2 separate regions of the Homo sapiens genome follow, and region 2 is linked to region 1. The links are contacts of gene promoters, found by promoter capture Hi-C in blood cells and fetal thymus (Javierre and others, 2016). All regions are on one chromosome and are shown on one strand. The core of a region is centred on a gene start or on the middle of the fragment in contact, and the rest is flanking DNA. Distances in the headings are between cores, read along the strand shown.

What was found. The method cuts DNA at HindIII sites, captures the fragments that hold promoters and counts their contacts. A CHiCAGO score of 5 or more calls a contact.
Region 2: a fragment that was not itself captured here is called in contact with the fragment with the promoter of RAB2A in region 1 in 1 of 17 cell types (non-activated CD4 T cells); the score reaches 5.9 in non-activated CD4 T cells.

What each region holds. Positions count from the first base shown.
Region 1 is chr8:60,515,270-60,521,059 of GRCh38, reverse strand. RAB2A (RAB2A, member RAS oncogene family) reads right to left here and starts at 4,073. Exons shown (of 8, transcript NM_002865.3): 1 at 3,807-4,073. The coding sequence starts at 3,852. LOC124901949 (a long non-coding RNA gene) reads right to left here. Exons shown (of 3, transcript XR_007060922.1): 3 at 4,262-5,790. RefSeq lists enhancers at 2,640-2,829, 4,065-4,925 and a silencer at 3,620-4,489. The HindIII fragment of the contact is 4,226 bases long and covers 2,187-5,790 here.
Region 2 is chr8:52,712,437-52,717,537 of GRCh38, reverse strand. It overlaps RB1CC1 (RB1 inducible coiled-coil 1), which reads left to right and starts at 3,103. Exons shown (of 24, transcript NM_014781.5): 1 at 3,103-3,463. RefSeq lists enhancers at 2,539-2,588, 2,609-2,918 and silencers at 2,979-3,148, 3,179-3,648. The HindIII fragment of the contact is 3,580 bases long and covers 874-4,453 here.

The DNA of each region.
Region 1 (5,790 bases), core at 2,824-5,323:
AGGATGGCTTAAGCCCAGGAGTTTGAGACCAGCCTGAGCAACACAGTGAGAGCCCATCTCTACAAAAATTTAAAAATTAGCCAGGCATGGTGGCATGTGCCTGTGTTCCCAGCTACTTGGAAGACTTAGGTGGGAGGATTGCTTAGGCCCAGGAGACTGAAGCTGTAGTGAGTGAGCCGTGATAGTGCCACTGCACTCCTGCCTGGGCAACAGAGATCATGTCTCAATAGATAGATAAATAATATAAGTAAAATAAAATAAAATGGAAGTGGTGGGTATATACATAAGAGTGAAAAATAAAAAATAAAATGTAAGTGGGACTGGGACTGAAGAGAAGGGAAACAGAATGAGGGAAGAGAGGAGGGGACCAGCATAAAATGCAACAGGGAGTGGTAGGATTTGTTAAACTCTCAAAAGAATGGATAAAAAGGAGTTGGCCAGGTGACAAAAATTTTTGACATAACTTTTTTTGATAGGGAAGAACAAGAAGGAGTGCTTCAGATATTAGCAGAAATAAGAACACAACCAAACCTGTGCCTTTGTTTACCTTGCTGAGCGTTGAGCAGCAGGGAGGGTTAGTGATAAGGTTAAAATGGTTGGCAGATGCTAGAATTTCAGAAGAAAAATTACTATAGATTCGTATTTTTTCTCTCCATGCTTGATAATTAACTGCTTATTAAAAACCACTTTCCACTTTACATCTAGATTTAAATGACACATTTTACTAAATGATTCAGAAACAAGACAGGAACAAGGAAAAAATTTAAAGCTACATTTTAACTGCATTTAGTCTTACAGTAAGAAAACAGCTCAATAGTATCATCATGATCATGTAAAAGTTTTTAAAACCTCTTCTATTAAAGAGGGAATTCTGAAAAGGAAAAATGTGCATTGTTCCTTTCCTTTGAGAAATCAAAGTACTTTCACATTTATCCTCATTTTATCCCACATACTGAGAGAAGGTTATAGGTTACGGAAACAGGGAAACAGAAAAATTAGGTGATTTCCTTCATTCTAAGATGCATGTTTTTGACCCTGACTTTTTAAAAAATCAAAGTGGATCTCACATTACTGATTTTAAAGTCATCTTTTCTAGGGGAGGGCCACACTGAGTGTATCTTACAACTATGGGTACACTCTGCATTAAAGAAATATGGTAAAGGATTTTGCCCAAATTAGTAAGCAAGAAGGTGGCAGAACTGGGCAACAACAACAACAACAACGACACCACTTCTGTTAAGTTATTAATATATACAAACAGGAATATAGTAGCCTGTTTGGCTCCTCTCTTATTAGTTAAATATACAGGGCCTACCTTCTACTACGCTCTTCCTGAAAGAAATACAGAGCCATACAAAACATCTTTTCTGACTTCAAGAAGTATATAATAGGTACCTACATAATAGAGGTGCCTATACAAGTATCTATACAACAGAAAAGTCTGGGATCAATATCAGAAGAATGACACAAAGTGAGAAACATAAATTCAGAAACGGAGTAGTCACTTTCAGCCAGGATACTGTGAAAATCTTCACACAATAAGAGCTTAATATATGTTGACTGTGAAGGCATTACGGAAAACTCAGATAAGACTTTGAAGGACTGATGGATCTTCCACAGGGAGAGATTGTGCCGGAAAGCACTCTAAGAATAGAGACTAGCAGTGCCCAGGAAAAAAACACCAAAATCAGTCACTGGGACTCAATGGCAGAAGCAAGGTGGGGAATAGCGGGAAAGAAGGCGAGAAATGTAGATAGGGGCTAAAATATAGAGTTCACTGAAGGTCAAACTAAAAATTGTGAGCAAACAGGAGTAGCCTTTTGACATTCATGCTTCAGGATGACTAAACTGACAGTAAACTACACTGGCTGAACTGGAGTAGGGAGAAGTACTGCTGCAGACTATAACAGTGTCAAGAATTCTGTTCCTGAACTAGGTCGTATCAGCAGCAATGACAAGAAAGAAGTGTCTTCCCTTTGAATTGCGTGGGGACTGCTTTTGGATAAGAGCAAATTCCAAGAGAACAGAGCATTAACTTGTTAGGATTTGTAGCCCCACTACTCCATGCACAATACTTTATTTATCCACAGTACAGCCTCAAATAAAAAACTGAAAAAAGGCAACCAGCAAAGTCTGATTTGAATTTTCACCACTAATGAGATAGCCAAATGCCACAGTCACAAGCTTCTATTTCTCAAACCCACTCATATTACAGTTAATGTGGCATTCCTCTCCAATCTTGTTTTTACAGCCTAAATGAAATTTTGCCAGAAGACTTTAGAATTCTCCTTCTTCCAAATACACCACAGCATTTTTCTTTTAAAGTTTACAAATCCAATTTCCACACACACACACACGCACGCACGCATCAGAAAACCTTGCTGAAAACTCATGTATCTAGCAGAAATTTTTTCTTTCAGGCAGCAATAAATATGCTTTTTTTTTTTTTTTTTTTTTTTTTTTGCAAACTCCACCTTCCGGGCTCAAGTGATCCTCCCGCCTCAGCCTCCCAAGTGGCTGGGATTACAGGCGCCTGCCACGACGCCCGGCTAACTTTTGTACTTTTAGTAGAGACGGGGTTTCACCACGTTGGCCAAGCAGGTCTCGAACTCCTGATCTCAGGTGATCCCCCACCTCGGCCTCCGAAAGTGCTGGGATTACAGGTGTGAGCCACCGCGTCCGGCCAACATGCTTCTTTAGTTACTTATAGAACCTGCCACATCATTAGTTCAACTACAAACTGCTGCTTACATGACCGAAGTTGTGCAAAGGGTCCAAAGTTGTGCAAGAGTAACCACTGAAATCAGACTCTGGTATATTAATAGTTGCAACATCTAAACAATCTTTATGTTTATTATTAGATTCAAAGTAATGCCAAATCACAGGTATTAAAAATATCTACGAAGAGTCTGTTTACTTTTCTGTGAAATATACTAGGACGTCATTTTAAGTGAGAATAACTGAATTTCTTTCAGCTCATGGACATGAGCTCACCTGAAAATTAGCAGTTGTGACACCGGACTTGACATATCTAAAACATCAGCGTCCTCAACATACACATACCTAAGTACACACCCAGAGCACTGAACGACTTTACATTACTATATAACCCCAGTTCACACGTGGCAAAAGTCCACAGAACTCGTTCATGCTTTCCTAACCCCGAAAGGGATTCTCCAGCCGTCAAGTAATGAGATGTGACTTATTCTGACGTGAGAGTTGAAGGTGTTAAAAAAGCATATTTTATATATATGTATATATATAAAATACATATTTTAAAGGTTTCCTTTTCTCTTTCTCGGCTGCCTGTCCCACGCCAAAAAGCGCCTTGCCCAGGCCTTGATAGATGCGTGCTGGTGGAGGAAGGTTGGACTGGTCAGGAACCAAGACCCGGGCCCCAACACCTTCTGCTCCCCTAGGTTTCCCTCCTTCTTTTTCCTGGGGCCGCGAAGAGACCTAACGCAAGGGGCCCTGGGGGTGGGGTGCAGTCATGTGAGTCGGGCCCCGGCGGCCCTGCGCTAGGCCTCCCCTCCTGTCACACACTTCCTGAATCGGGCGTCGCAAACGGCTGCCACGGCCCTCAGCTGCAAGACTGGCCGGGTCGGGGGCCGCAGACCGGGCCTGGCCAGGCCGCGGCCGCTCGCAGTGCCCACGTCACCAGCTCCAGCACTGCGGAAATGGAGCGGCGCGGCCAGGAGGGAGGCGCCGGGTGGAGTCCGCGTCCCCGCCACCGCCAGACGCCGTTTGCCCCTCAGCCCGGGTCCGGAGGCCGCCGACACCCGCCCGGCCGCGCCCGGGGCCCTCACCTGTGTCGCCGATTATGATGTACTTGAAGAGATAGGCGTACGCCATGGCCGCGGCCGCTCAGTGCCAGGGCACACGGCTCCTCCTCCCGCTGCTGCTCCTCCTCCGCGCCCCAACCCCGGTGCCGCTCAGCCTCGAAACGCCAGGCGCCGCCCGCCGCCGCCGCTGCTGCTGTCAGCCGCCGGGAGTGAGGGGCTGTGAGGAAGCCGGACGAACTGACACCCGCAGAGCCGAGGGAGACAGCGCCCGACCGAGCCCAGCCGAACAATAACAGCCGCCGCGGCGCCTCCGCCCCGCCTCCGCGCCGACCCGGAAGTTCTGCGGCCGCCGGCGCCGCCGGAGGAAAGGGGAGGAGCCCCGCACGCTGGCCCAGCCCTGCACGCTGGCCGCGCCCCGCCAGCCGGAGCCCCGCCCCGCCCCGCCCCGCGCCTGCCTTGCCCGGTCCGCCCTGTCTTCCAGCAGGGCGGGGCCCGGCTCCGGTTGTTCCGCCACGTTTGAGCGGGCGAGCCCGGCGGCCGGGAGACGCCAGGGAACGGGGCTGGTGGGGGTACAAAGGCTCGGTTCCGTCGCCTTCAGCCCTGCGGTGGGGGCACGGGGCAAGTGAGGGGACGGCAGAGGCGGCGTTCGGTGTGAGGCTGCGCCCTGGGCTCCTGAAAATGTGTGTGAAAATGTGGGAGGCACACGGCGAGGGGGTGGGGGTGGCCTGGTATTTCTGTGTTTGGCATCGGGGCTTGAAGGTGAAAATGGCAGTATTTATAAATTGGAAACCGTAAATCTGGGACTGCAAAGTAAATCATGGTATGCACGCACAGTGGAGTACTACGTTGCTCTCACCTGAGGTCAGGAGTTCGAGACCAGCCTGGCCAACATGGCGAAACCGCGTCTCTACTAAAAATACATTAGCCGGGCGTGGTGGTGCTCGCCTGTAATCCCAGCTACTCGGAGTCTAAGGCAGGAGAATCACTTGAACCTGGGAGGTGGAGGTTGTAGTGAGCCGAGATTGAACCACGGCACTCCAGACTGGGCGACAGAGCGGGACTCCGTCTCAAAATAATAATAGTAAATAAAAAATAAATAAAGTCTCTGAACCTGTCCTGGTTCTGAGGGCTGCTCTAAAAAAAAAAAAAAAAAAAAAGCCTGACTTAGGTTAAGCAAAACCGAGATGATCTGTTTATGTGTGTGTATATAACATGCACCATATGTAATATATGAATTGTATATAATTTTTATGTGTAACAAATAGTGGGAAAACATTTACATACCCATATATGCATAATCAATCTGAAAGGAAAGCTAACTGGTATTAAGAGAAAGGAGGGAATGGGATTGGGGGGAAAATGTACTTTTCCCTGAATTTTTTTGTGCAGTTTGACATTTTTTGCAGTGTTCATGAGTTACCTATTAGGAAATACTGTTAAAGGAAAAAACAAAATGACTGTGCATTCAAAGAATAGTTATTGAATACTATGTTTCATGTACCGCCAGGCACAGCAACTGGAGGCCCTGTATGTTCTATGTTCTGTTTTTCTACTTTGCTTTTTCAGTCATCCAGCCCAAAATGTCACCACTCTGTTCAAAAAGACCACAGGTTATGGAAGAGGAGGTGGAGAATAGGGTGTCAGGAAAGGTTACTTAGAGATTATGATTTCTGAGCCAGGAATATGAATTATGTATAGAGTTTGTCGAAAGAACAACAGTTTGGGGAGGGGAACCAAAGTTTATGGACAAGGAACAGAATGTGCAAAATTCCTGGATCTGTTCAGGGAATTTGAAGTTGCATAAGGAAGCTAATTGACTAACTCATATCCTCATAACCCATAACCTCATATTGAAGGAGAATCATTGCTGGGGAAAAGCGATTGGGATTTAGTGGCCCTCGTTCCTGTTGCCTAATACTCTTCTCTTTGGGGCCTCTCATTATGTAATTAGTACTGACACCATCATGCTGGGTTGCTAACATGCTTTGGATGGCCTTGCCAAATATGA
Region 2 (5,101 bases), core at 1,414-3,913, 7.8 Mb after region 1:
CCAGGTGCTGTGGCTCACTCCTGTAATCCCAGCACTGTGGGGGAGGCTGAAGCGGGTGGATCACTTGAGATCAGGAGTTCGAGACCAGCCTGGCCAACACGGTGAAACCCCATCTAATAAAAGTATGAAAAGTAGCCGGGAGTGGTGGCAAGTGCCTGTAATCCCAGTTACTAGGGAGGCTGAGACAAGAGAATCGTTTGAACCTGGGAGGTAGAGGCTGCGGTGAGCAGAGATGGTGTCACTGCACTCCAGCTTGGGCAACAGAGTGAGACTCTGTCTCAAAACAAACAAACAAACAAACAAACAAACAAACAAGCATGGTAGGGAATGACTCCCAGAGTAGGTGATATTGAAGTTGAGAACTGAAGGAAAAATAGGATTTTAAAGATCTGAACTGATTTGAAGTACTTAGGGTATTTATTGTACATCCTATATAATCCCTCCATACTCCTAAAGAAAACTGTTTTCTTTTGCCCTCACTGTAAATCTACTGAAGCATCTAAAATAGTTATTAAATTTAAAAAAACAATAATGTGATGAGGCCAGAATTAGGTTTCTCTCTTCTGTTCTCTCCCACGGCACATTACCTTTGCATCATTCGCACACTATTATAATTATCTGAAAATTTGGAAGAGGTCCAAAGAATGGACAGATATTTAGGAGCGCCAGGAAGGAAACAGCACAAAAGGGAAGGAGGAGTATAAAAGTTAAATAATTTAAAATGGCGAATGCTTTAGAAAGTTCAAGTAAAATCTTAGTACTGTAATTTACTGTAATTTGGAGGTCCTTGTTAATGATCTGTTTGCAAGTTAAGTAAGAAATGCACAGTAGGCCAAAAATGAGATTGGACTGAGGACTTCCTATCAGAAAGCTTGGTTGAGAAGTGATGCTACAGAATTTTGTTTGTTCTTTTTTTTGTTTTATTAAGGAAGGGAGAATAGAGGGTGTCCAATAGGCAACAAAAGTAACTTTTCAAGACCTACTACCATGGATACATGTATTAGTAACTTATAAACAGTATTTCCTCTAGATATTTGCATATATATAATAGAATTAATGTTAGTACATTTTCACTTATCCCTAGGAAAGAATTACTGATGTTTGTTAAGAGTCTGTTAAGAATATACAAACTCTTAACATTTACACTGGAGGTGTATAAGGTATGAACCAGTCGTTTCTGGTAATTTATTGCAACCTGTGATTAAGAGAGAAGGTTAGGACTGAATTAATTCATTTTCCAAAGAAAAAAGTCAGACAACATTTATAATTTACCAGATTATCACTGGCATAGTTCAGAAATTTTTTTTTATTTTTCAGACAGGGCAACAATCTGTTGTCCAGGCTAGGAGTGCAGTGGTGCCATGATGGTTCACTGCAGCCTCGACCTCCTGGGCTCAACTGATTCTCCCACCTCAGCCTTCTGAGTAACTGGGACCACAGGTGTGCATCACCACGCCCAGCTAATTTTTGTATTTTTTGTAGAGAAGGGGTTTCACTACGTTGCCCAGGCTGGTCTCCAACTCCTGGGCTCAAGCAATCCTCCTGCCTCGGCCTCCCATAAGTGCTGGGATTCCAGGTGTGAGCCACTGCACCGAGCTCCAGCAAGATTTTTACATTCTAAATTGGGTTATATTTGTAATAATGAATGTCACTAATAAGAGGAAGTGCAAGTACCAATACGTTCTTTACAGGCCTCATACTGCAGTTTTTCTTTTCTTTCTTTTTCTTTTCATTCTTGGTCATACTGCCATTTTTCTTAGCCAATTTTCTGGCCAAACTCCTCCTCACCACTTATTTTCTGTGTGCTGATGACTATGCTTTACTACTAAATTTGGCTCTTTTGTCTTGCCAGTTCACACCTTCCCTTAAGGCATAATAACCATTTACTACTTAATTTTCGCTTTTCTCCTCTATCTTGCTGGGGTGGTGTAATAAAATTCCAGCTTAACCAATAAGTAAAATGGCTTGCCAGTGATGATAAAGACCACATTTGTTTGGGATATGTAGCAGCACAAATTTAAAAGTAAATAAATAAAACAAGCCCATCTCAATCCTAACTTACAGATACTGGTCAGTGTGACTGAAAACTGAAATTGTTCATGCTAACCAACGTTTTTCAGTTTCCACCTAACATTTTGTTCAGTTTGGTGCCCTCTTGTGCCTCCTATTTTTACAAACACAACTCAGAATTCCTGATGACTTTAGAGAAGGCACCTCCAAGTTTTCACTCATACCAGATATTCCTGGATATAACAGGAATTTGAGAACTATTATGTAATTATTCTACGTGTAACATCTGCTCATCAGATTTTAATATTCAAGCCTCGTGGCTTCAAGTCATTGCCTGTGACTGATCATCTTCACAAATGCAAGAGTCCCCTGAAACTGTCTCCCAACCATTAGGGTGCTCATGCTAACCCCTAACCCACTAGACCCACTACAAGATTCAGTATTTGTAAAGCTGAAAACGTGGTTGTGGCGTTTACATTTTCATTCCGATTGGCCTAGGCTTCCCTCTCTTCTCTCTTGCATGTTTTCTTGCCTTACCTGGTCTGAGAAATGGTGCCGCCCCACCCTTGCAGAGTTAACAGGGGGACGCTTGCCAGCTGCGTGCAGTCCCGGCGGTCCGGATATGCGGGGAGGTGGCGGCAGGAACGCCTGGGCCAGGCGCTGGTACGTTATCCTGTTACAGACCTTGGCCTAGTCCGCAGGTTGCCCCTGGAGAGGCGACGGGGACACCAGACCCTCGATTGGCTCCGCTCCTCCGCGACAGGCTGAGGGGAACAAGCTCTCTTTCGCCTGGGGACGATCCAGTGTTTGGTGGGTCGACCTTAGTCAGGGCCTAGCTGTCGCAAAGAAGGTCAAATTCACCTTGGGAAAGTACGCACCGGGACGGCAGCTAGCACCATAACAGGCGGCCCCAGCGGAGTCTCCCAGGGTCAGGCCAGGACAGCCAACCTGCCGGCCGGAGAGCCGGAGGCGGGGCCGCCCCCTTCCCGGCAGGCTGCCGACTTCCGGACCTGCGTAGACGCCTCTCTGCGCCTCCAGGCGCGCCCCTCCCCCGGCAGGCCGTTTCCCGGCATGCGCCGCGGAGGAAGAGACGGAGTCGACAATAACAAACCAAGCCGCGGCGGTGTCCGCGGCCCTGCCGAGCCCTCGGCGTTGCCTCAGAATCCCCCAGTCGCCTGGGCCCCTCGGCTCTGACAGGCCGCGGCCTTCTGTCCCCCGGCCCCAGACCCAGAGCCGAGGGGCCTGCTCGCGTCCTTGTCCGCCCGGACCCCTCCCTGCCTCCTAGAGTTCGGGGCCGCGGCGGGCGGGCGCCCGGGACGCCGGCGGTTGTGTCGGCTTAGCGGTGCCGAATGGGCGGTTGGTAACCGCTGCCGAGGACTAGGCGGCGGCGGAAGATGGTGCCGGGGGTCGCTGGCTCTGCTGCTGCCGCCGGCGAAGGAGGAGGCGTTGCCGGGTAAGTGTCGCCGCCGCCCGCGTCCCCTTCCCCCATCTGGCACAGCGGTCGCGCGGCGGGCCCTGGCACGGTGGGCCGGGGTCGCATGGTCCAGGGTTCCGGTCGGCCTGAGCCCGGCCCACGCGCAGGTGTGTGCACGGGAGGGCCCCGGCGCCTCCCGCCCCGGCAGGTGTTGCCCACTGGCCGCTTTCCCGGCGCGACAGCCCCTGTGGAGACAAAAGCGGTTCGAGTCGATGCTCCACTAGGCTGCCGGAGGTGTGGGTCGGACTCGTGCTGCGGGGCTGCCTGCGGCTTCCTCGGCCGGAGCCTTGGGATCCCTCCCTCTGCGCTGCCGCTTAGTACCCGGCCTAGTTGCCGGAGTGGCCGAGGGCGAGGGACGTCCGAACCTCCCAAGACGCATCTTGACTTGTGCTCATCGCTGCCAGGGATCAGCCCTTAATTCTGTGTTGGACTCGAGAAACGGGAGAGTGGAGTTTGGCCGAGGCCGAACGAAGCTCACCGAATGGGAGGAACGGAGAGATGATGTCTTTGTCCCGACCCCAGAGTGCGAGGATCGGTATAAAGTTACTCCTAGGAATGACTCAGCCTGCGCCCGCCCCACGGATAGATTTGGGATGGGTGTGCACGCGGATTTCACAGCTTCCTTGGTAGAAACAAAAATACATTAACCAACAGTAGAAATAGCAGCTTCTGAATGGAATATCTCTATAGTTTCTTCCACCGCCTGGTGGATGTGCTGTGTTTACTGTTTATGGTTTCGTAATCTAGTCGTTTCCATCATGACTCTTTAAAGTGTGGTCATACCTTGAAGTAGTGTAGACTTGGCTGCCAAGGAAGACTCATGTGCTCACTGTTGATAAAGAGTCACGTTACTACGAGACATTCAGCCAGATGGGAATGTTCTCAAGTCTGCTGCAAACATTTAAAGTGTACCTATTTGCTAACTATTTTATTGTGTAGTTTCTTAAGTTTTTGTGTTTTGGTGAAGCTTGTATGATTTATACATAAGTTTGGACAGTTAGCAATTTAGGAAGAGACTTAAGTAGACTTAATTGTGTGTTTAATCAAGAATGTTATTACATTGTGATAGACGATAAAAAGAGGGTCCTTCCACTTCTGATCAGATAAAACTGTGAGAAACCAAGGAACTACTGAGGGAGGTGGCTGATTTTAGTTTTTGGATTATTGGATTTATAAGCAGACCATTGCTAGGAATGTGAAAATATGTTCGCTTTTTATATTTGTTGTAACAGAATATGGCCCTAATGAAGATATTTTCTCAATAACATTCCTGTCATGTCTTTTAATGTTTGTGATTGTGTTCAAAACCTGGATAAAGTTTTATGTCAGGGATGCTTTAGGCACATAATGCTTACGTTGAGAAACCTCTGTTGATGGAAAGTGGATATTGACATAGTTCATATTTTTAAAGTAATTTTATTTAGTCTATTTTGAACTTTTTATGGTAATCAAGATATGATTATTTATGTACCTAATCCTTTATATGTTTGTTATTGGACGACAGGGAAGACAATGAAGCGGTACTTTTGTCCCTGAGTTTTTTTTTTTTTTTTTTTTGGCTCTTGCTGCCAAACACAAGATCAGGATGCATGGCAGATTTACTTTAGCAAATCAAGT